2 separate regions of the Homo sapiens genome follow, and region 2 is linked to region 1. Evidence: promoter capture Hi-C in 16 types of primary human blood cells and fetal thymus (Javierre and others, 2016). All regions are on one chromosome and are shown on one strand. Each heading gives the region's core, a stretch centred on a gene start or on the middle of the fragment in contact. The rest is flanking DNA. Distances are from core to core; before and after follow the strand shown. Region 1 holds the start of SYDE1 (synapse defective Rho GTPase activating protein 1). Region 2 overlaps CYP4F11 (cytochrome P450 family 4 subfamily F member 11).

What was found. The method cuts DNA at HindIII sites, captures the fragments that hold promoters and counts their contacts. A CHiCAGO score of 5 or more calls a contact.
Region 2: a fragment that was not itself captured here is called in contact with the fragment with the promoter of SYDE1 in region 1 in 1 of 17 cell types (neutrophils); the score reaches 5.4 in neutrophils.

The regions. Positions count from the first base shown.
Region 1 is chr19:15,104,923-15,109,294 of GRCh38, forward strand. It overlaps SYDE1 (synapse defective Rho GTPase activating protein 1), which reads left to right and starts at 2,479. Exons shown (of 8, transcript NM_033025.6): 1 at 2,479-2,599; 2 at 4,134-4,372. The coding sequence starts at 2,512. RefSeq lists an enhancer at 4,165-4,372. The HindIII fragment of the contact is 2,464 bases long and covers 2,021-4,372 here.
Region 2 is chr19:15,911,628-15,915,999 of GRCh38, forward strand. CYP4F11 (cytochrome P450 family 4 subfamily F member 11) reads right to left here. Exons shown (of 12, transcript NM_021187.4): 9 at 3,135-3,268; 10 at 2,975-3,039; 11 at 2,678-2,760; 12 at 750-2,282. The coding sequence ends at 2,105. It also overlaps the pseudogene LOC729654. Among named protein-coding and RNA genes, the nearest start is that of CYP4F2, 16 kb to the left of the region's middle. The HindIII fragment of the contact is 4,888 bases long and covers 1-4,372 here.

The DNA of each region.
Region 1 (4,372 bases), core at 1,229-3,728:
CAATGTCACCTTGACATGCCTCCCATGTAGAGAGGTATAATCTGTGCCCCCTTTCCTTGAATCTGGTGGCAGAAGTGACACAGCATGACACTCAAGGCTGGGTCAGAAGAGATGCAACTTCTTCCTTGTTCACTTTTAGAGGGCTGGGTGGCTGTCTAAGAAGTCTGACTACCCCAAGACCACCATGCTGGAAGGAAACCCGAACCACACGGAGAGGCCTGTGTAGCTACCCTGGTCCACAGCCCCAGCAACAGCTGGCGTCAGTTGCAAGACCTCTGAGTGAAGACACCTCCAGATGACTCAGGACCCTGCCATTTTTTAGTCACCCTCTAGCCTAAGTCTCCCCTGTCCAAACTGAACCACAGCATCTGTGAGCATCATGTAAACCAAAAGGTATCTCAGATAAGTCTCAATAAATTTAGAAAGCTTATTTTGCCAAGGTTATGGACATGCCTGTGACACAGACTTAGAAGCTCCTGACAACATAAACTAGGGTAGTCAGGGCCACTACCTTGATTCAGGTCTGTAATCCTAGCTACTTGGTAGGCCAAGGCGGGCAGATCACTTGAGACCAGGAGGGTTTTTTGTTTTGTTTTGTTTTTTTGTTTTGTTTTTTTGAGACGGAGTTTCACTCTTGTTGCCCAGGCTGGAATGCAGTGACACAATATTGGCTCCCTGCAACCTCCGCCTCCCGGGTTCAAGAGATTCTCCTGCCTCAGCCTCCCGAGTAGCTGGGATTATAGGCATGCACCACCACCCCCAGCTAATTTTGTGTTTTTAGTAGAGAAGGGGTTTCCCCATGTTGGTCAGGCTGGTCTCGAACTCCCAACCTCAGGTGATCCGCCCGCCTTGGCCTCCCACAGTGCTGGGATTAGAGGCGTGAGCCACCGCACCCAGCCGAGCCCAGGAGTTTGAGACCAGTCTGGGCAACATGATGAGACTCTATCTCTACAAAAAGTAGGGAAATTAGCCAGGTATGGTGACACATGCCTATAGTCCCACTTGCTCGGGAGGCTGAGGCAGGAGCATCACTTGAGCCCAAGAGGCTGAGACTGCAGTGAGCTGTGGTGGTACCACTGCACTCCACCTTGGTCTAGTTTTATATATTTTAGGGAGACATGAGACAGCAATCAATATATGTAAGATGCACATGGGTTTGGTCTGGGAAGGCAGGACAACTCAAAAGTAGGGAGAAGGCTTCCAGGTTATAGGTGGATAAGAGAGAAACAATTGCATTCTTTCGAGTTTCTGACTAGCCTTTCTGAATATGCAATTTACAGAGATAGTCACTTATGCCTTAGTCTGGCTTAGTGAAACAAATAGGTAAGGAAGCGATCAGATATGTGTTTGTCTCATGTGAGCAGAGGGACAATTTTGAGTTCTGCCTGTCCTTCATCCATAAGGAATTTCCTTGTAGGCAAATTGTGGGGGAGGTATGTAGCTTTTTTTTTCTTTTCTTTTCTTCTTTTTTTTTAGACGGCATCTTGCTCTGATGACCAGGCTAGAGTGCAGTGGTGCAATTTTGATTCACTGCAACCTCCACCTCCCGTGTTCAAGCAATTTTCCTGCCTCAGCCTCCCAAATAGCTGGGATTACCAGTGCCCACCCACCATGCCTGGCCAATTTTTTTTCTTTTTCATATTTTTAGTAGAGATGGAGTTTCACCATGTTGGCCAGCCTGGTTTCGAACTCCTGACCTCAAGTGATCCGTCGCCTCAGCCTCCCAAAGTGCTAGGATTACAGGAGTGAGCCACCGCGCCCAGCTAGCTTTTTTAACCTTGTAGCTATCTTACTTAGGAATAGAATGGGAGGCAGGTTTGTCCTACACAGTTACCAGTTTGACTTCTTCCTTTTGGCTCAGTGATTTGGAGGTCTCAAGATTTATTTTCCTTTCACAATCACGACATGGTTGTTTTACATCATTACGTTTGGGGATGGTTTGTCAAACAGCAGTAGTAATTGGAATTTGGAGGTGAGAGAATTGAGTGGGGAAAGAGTGGCATGGGGAGACCAAGGAAGAAGCTTGGGGTGGGGTGGGTAGTGGGGACGGTCATTGAAACGAATGACACTACGGCTTGCACCAGGTTGAAGCAGTACCTGGCAAGGAGAGAGAGGATACGTGGAGGCTGCGATTTGGAGACAGACCCAAGAGAACTTCCTGGATGCCATCACCCAGAGTCCCATCCAGGGAGGGTGGGTGAGGTGGAAGACAAGGGATCGGGCCTGCGCCACGATCGTCACGTCCCATCGAAGCTGGAGCGGATCCGGGCACCCGGAGCCCCCATTCCAACCCCTCCCGGCCCCAGGCAACTACATCTCCCAGCATCGCCCGCTCGGGCCGCGGGAAAGGGGAAAAAAAAAAAAAGTTTGGGCCAAGCATTCCCGGAATGTGCTTCCTGCTGGCGCGGGGCGGGGGGCGGGCGGGGAGGCCCGGGCGGGGCGGGGAGGGCGCGGGGCGGCGCGGCCGGAGCCCGGGGCGCGCACTCGGCTCGGCCCGGCCCGGGCCGCAGCATGGCCGAGCCGCTACTCAGGAAAACCTTCTCCCGCCTGCGGGGCCGGGAGAAACTTCCCCGGAAAAAGTCGGACGCCAAGGAGCGCGGTAAGCGGAGATCGGTGGGGAACAGGGGGCGCCGAGCCCCACCCGGCCTGGGAGCGGGGTCCCAGGGCCCCGAGGACAGACGGTGGGGGGGATCAGGGGGAGCCCCCCGCACCCCGCTGCAGACTGGGGTGCCTCCAGCCAGGGGAGGGTAGGGGTCCTGGAAGGAAGGGGCTGGGAGGGAGGGGGGCGCGGACCGTTATGTGCTGCTGGCCGGGGATGCCAGCGCTGCGGGCTCCTTGGGAGGCCCGGGAGGGGGCCTCGCCCACGACAGGAAATGGGGCCGCGACTGAGGGCCTGGAGGGTGGAGGGGAGGAGGGGCTGGGAGGCCGGGACACTGGGGCCCAGTCGGGCTGGGCAAGGGGCATCGGGAGCCCTGGAGGCGCAGGATGGGAGATGGGAGGCGTACTCCTGCAAAGGAAAGAGAGGGGCGGCCCGTCAATCAGAGTAGCTGCCCCCTCCGCCTCCCACCTACTAACAGTGACGGCAACTGCGCCTGCCTTAGCCCCAGGAAACTGTCCCTTTTATACAGATGGGGAAACTGAGGCACGGAGCAATTGGGTCATGTGCCCAGGGCCATCGACTTAAACAGCTCTTTGGACTATGCTACAAACAGAGACCCTAGAGGGTGGACATCAGAGGTGGCCAGAGGAGGAGTTCAGCAGGGTAGCAAGTAAAAACCTTAGAGAAACAGCTGCGTGGGATAGGGGGACCCAGGAAGGAAGGAGTTAAAGGAGGAAGGCCAGACCATTCCATGGACGTACCCCTTCCCCCCAGGCCTTCCCAAAGATTCCCAATGTTCCCAGGGAAGGGAGAAGGGACAGAGATGCCCAAACACAAACACACACAGGAAACAGCCCAGGACATGAGACAGGAGAGGAGGGAGGGAAGGGGAAGTCCCAAAGCATTGAGCGTGGGGGGTCTGGCCTGGGCTGAGGGACAAGGGCCCATCCCAGGATGGCGACAGAGTTTGGAAGACAGGAGGGAGGGTAAAAGGGGCAGGGGACTGGGAGTGACTGTGCTGCAGGGAATAGAAAACCCAGCTCCTCACTCCTGAGCACGTAGTGCCTGCTGTGGGCTGTATACTTTTCCAAAAGGCTCCTGGAAGCCTCCCTGGACATGGAAATCACATCCCCCCATTTCACAGGAGGATACTGAGCCTCAGAGAGGGAAGCGACTTGCCCAAGGCCACGCAGGTGCAAAGCTCCATGCCACGGTTATTGAGAGGGTAGAGGAAGTGGAGACTGGAACGCAGTACCTACGGGCCCCAGGAAGCCTGACTTAGAACCCTGAGGCTGCAGGGATGGAGTCCCCTTTTGGGATGCCAGGGACTGAGTAGGGGGTGCTCTAAGCTGATAACTGAGATCGCTAGCCTGTGGCTGCCTATTCCAAACAAAACAGCAGGATCCAAGGAACCATGACTTATCAGGGGCCGGCCAGGGCCGTACACAGCATCCCACCCACTGATCAATTGCACAGGGCTGCTCTGCAGGCAGTGAGGGGCTGGGTGGGTCTCACTCCCCTTGCTCTCTGCCAGGCCACCCAGCCCAGCGCCCAGAGCCCAGCCCTCCAGAGCCAGAGCCCCAGGCTCCCGAAGGGTCCCAGGCCGGAGCAGAGGGGCCCTCCAGCCCCGAGGCATCAAGGAGCCCTGCACGGGGAGCCTACCTGCAAAGCCTGGAGCCCAGTAGCCGCCGATGGGTGCTGGGTGGGGCCAAGCCAGCTGAGGACACCTCTTTAGGGCCTGGGGTACCTGGCACTGGGGAGCCCGCCGGCGAG
Region 2 (4,372 bases), core at 788-3,287, 810 kb after region 1:
AGTATACCCATTTTGTCCTTCCCATACCTGTGCCCGGCCACCTGATGCAAGATGGGCACACAGCCACTGAGGAAGCGGAGTCTGCCGCCTGCCGGCTGCAGGGTGCCCTTAGGGGTGGCCTCGATCGCCGGTGGGGTCCGCATTTCTGGGGGACCCGGCGCCTCGACCCGGAGCGGGGATGGTGGCTCTCTTGCCATAACGGAGAACAGAAGCGGTAGGGTCAGCAAGAGCAGGAAAAGAAAAATAGGGGGAGGGAGGGGGCGCCGGAGAACCCAGGGGTCGCTCAGGCTCGGGCGCGAGGAGGCCCGGGGGTTCCCGCGGCTGGTGCCCGCTGAGGTGAGGGGAGGGGGCCCATGACGCCGCGGCGGCGCGGGCACTCCCTCTGCCCAACTCTCGGCTGAGCGCGGCTCCCGGCTCAGGCCCCTCTGCCGCCGCAGCCGCGGGCCCAGTAGACACAACCCAGCCGAGGAGCAGCAGCAGCAGCAGCGGCGCCCCGCGCTCCCTGGGGCCCTCCAGAAAGTTTTTTTATGGATATCAGCAATCTAATTCTACAATTTATATGGAGAGACAAAAGACTCAGAATAACCAACACAATATTGAAGGAGTAGAACATAGTTGGAGGACTGACAATATCCAAGTTTTAAGACTTACCGTGAAGCTACAGTAACCAAGATGTTGCGGTATTGGTAAAAGAAAAGAGAAATAGGTCAATGGAACAGAATATTAAAAGCCCAAAAAATAGATCCAAATAAATATAGGCAACTTATATTTGATAAAGGTGCAAAGGCAATACGATGGTCCCAAATAAAAAATATAATGTATTTGGAGATCAGAATCAAGGCCAGAGTAACCGAGTGTAGCAAGGGAAGGAGATCAGCTACAGAAGAGATTAGAGAAGTCAACAGGGTTTAGCGATGCAACATCCCTTAGGCTATGAAAAGAGATCAATGTTTGTAGCAGGATTTTATTTTGAGACACTGACTGAGGTTTCTCTCATTCTCCTACCACCTCACACAGTCAGGTACCTTCACCATCCTCAGGAAAAAAAAAAAAATATATATATATATATATGTGTGTGTGTGTGTGTGTGTGTGTGTGTGTGTGTGTATATGTATATATGTGTGTGTGTGTGTGTGTGTGTGTGTATATATATATATATATAATATATATATATATATACATATCTTATATGCACAGCCCTCTAGGAGAAGAGGTTGTTCAAGGAGCACAGATATTAGAATTTTTGCCTTTGAGTTCCAAAACACAGCCTTTAAAGTCGTGGTAGAAATAACGATCTTGAAAGACAACATTCTTTAACAGCCAGACTTTCTGAGACAGGAAATAATAATGGCTCCATATATTTAGCATTCATTGTGTGCCAGGCACAGCTCTGAGTCCCTTATATTGAGACCTCAGGAAAACCCTGATATAGGTAATGCTGTTGTCTCCATTATATGGTTGAGGGAACCGAGGCACAGAGAGAGGAATTAACTTGCTCAAGTCACGCAGCAGAGCCAGGACTTGAGCCCAAGCAGTCTGGCTCCAGATCCTATGCCTCTGAAAGTAAGGGAAGAGAGTCACAGAGAGAACGCACTGGGAGGGGGAGAAACAGGGGTGGGAAGTTGGTGGAAAAAGGAACTAAAAATTTCTGAGAGCCTGCCAGGGTGGAAGCTGCACCCCTTTCCCTTTGTTCTGAGCTGAGGACTCCAGTCTTGGGAGGACATTCCCAGGACAGATGAAGGGATCTGCCCCTATGGTTGTTTCTCGCTGAATCAGAGTCTCAGTCTTGCTCCTTAAACCCATTCTTAATCCTGTTCCCTCTCCTGCTCAAACACCTCCCAGGGCTCCCTACTGCCCACAGGATAAAGTTTTTACTTGGGCTCTGGGAGAACCCACTAAGGGCCTAGATGCCCTGTGCTCAGCCAGAGAGGCCGTCAGGGTTTTGGGTTCAGAGACGTCACCCTGCCTCCACCCACTCACCTCCCTTTCTTAGATCCCACCAGTCCCCAGGAGCCCCATGCTGGCTGTCAACGAGGCTCAAGCAGAGGTGTCAGCATAGTTTTGTTTCTGGGACTCTACAGAGGTGGGTGGGTGGGTAGGACAGTCACTGTGAGTTCGCACCCAGGGGCTCCACCCGCAGCCAAAGTCCACCCTCTGCGCGCAATATCAGCTCGGGTTTCCTGCGGGGTTCAGTGTGGGTCGGCAGGATGCGGAAGTGCAGCAGGGTGAGCGCCAGGACCACCTTCATCTCAGCCATGGCGAACGCCTGCCCGATGCAGTTTCTGGGGGCAAAAGTGAGGGAATCTGACTGTGCCCATGACCCCCATCCCGGCCCCATCATGCTTAGAACCTGGCCTGGGACCCCAAACGCACCCACATAGGCTTGAGGGGCAGAAAGAGGGGATAAGTGTCCACAGGACTCCCATGTGTGCTTGCATATCCCCCAAACCTGGCCCAGGCTCCTACCCCCAGTTCAGATAAACAGATGAAGGAGGGGACTCTGAGCACACCGCAGACCCCTCTAGGACCTTCCCAAACCCATTCTGTGAACAGTTGCCCATGAACTCCTGAGGAAGGGAGGGAAGGAGAGCTGGAACTGGGACCATCTGTAACTTCCCCCTTTTTGGACCCCTGCACCCATCATGCCATCTCTGCCTCAGACACAGGCCATCCTTACCTGGGCCCTGCCGAGAAGGGAATAAAAGCCAGAGGTGACCTCTCCTTGATGTTCTCTTGGTCGAAACGGAAGGGGTCGTAGACCTGCAGGTGAGACCAAGAAGGCTTGCTGGGTGGGGTCACCCAGTTGGGTGGGGTCTCCCAGTTGTCTCCAAGACCCCCGGCCTTGGAGAGACATTTTGGCAGATGTGTCTCCATTGAGGAGAGGTGATGTTGGATTTTCCTGGTCAAAACCCTGTCACCTCCTCTAGGAACCTTGGAATGGACTCCAAAAAGGGTGGGGTGAGGGAGGCACTACCTCAGGGTCTGGCCACACAGTTGGGTTGTAATGGATCCCGATAATATTGATGAGGCAGACAATGCCTGTGGGAGAGAAGAGGGCAGTCAGGACAAGGCCCCCCTGCCTGAGGGACCCCTCTTGCTACCCAGGAGGCTCCTCCCCCTGAGGCTGTGAGCACCTTTGGGGATGACGCGGCCGTCTGGGAGCACAAAGTCCTGCGTGCAACATCGGGAGATGACCGGGACTGGGGGATGCAACCGCAGGCTCTCCTTAATGCACATGGTCAGGAAGGGCAGCTGGGCCAGGTCGTCCCTAAGAAAACACCCCAGCCCCAATCATTATCAAGGGAACAAAGACACAATTCTCCAGCTTCTCTGTTTCCAAGCGAGACTTTTTCTCCCTATCACAAAATAAATTCCACATGGATGAAATACTGGAGAATTTAAAAAGCAGAAAAAAATTAGAAAAGCAGAAAATTAGAAAAGTACCAGAAAAAAATGGTGCCGATTTTTTAAAGATTATTCTGAGGAAAACACAACACTCTGAAGCCAGCTATTAAAAAGGTTAACATATTGGCCTAAAGGTAAATATCCTTTATGGTAAGAAAGCAAACACAAAATGCAAGTGAATAAGAAACAAAATACCCAGATCCACTGTTTTGCTCTTATTCATCATTGTATTAGCGATAGTAGCAAATGCAATTAGACAAGGGAATAAAAAAGAGAGGAATGCAATTTGAAATGTGGTGGTGGCAGACGGTGATTTTATACTTAGAAAAACAGAACACTTCACTGGAAAACATTTATAAACATTTAAGACCCAGTAAGGGAGCTGAATTGTTTGCTTAATCTTTCTTCTTTTTCTGTGGCTGTTTAAAATTTTAATACATTGTACACTTAAGTGGCTCTAAATTTAAAAACTATAAAACATCCTCTACCCCTATGGCCCAAAGTCACCTGCTTCTTCTCCTCACAGGTTGCCTAAGTTATTATTATTTTTATGTATCTTTCTAGAGATAATTTTTAGTATCTTAAAAATATGAGTACATCATATACTATACACATATTCCATATCTTTTCTCATTTAACAGTATGTCAGTCTTTTCTTGTGTAGCTCCTGGGACTTGTATCAAAATAGGGTTATCCCTACTCTGAAGCTATAAAATAATTTTCCCATGGTTTCTTCTAGAGCTTTTAACAGCCTTTAAAAAAAACTATATACTTGAGTAATCTAAACATTGTCCTATTATAAGACATGGCAACCAGATTGAGTTGATTTTTTTTCCAGGAAAATAAGAAGCATCTGGAAAAAGATAAAAGATAAGATATTAATAATAATGATAATAATATAAAATATCTGAATTAAATTTTAACAAGAGACGTAAAGTCTCTGTATTTCCAATGAATTTATACATTT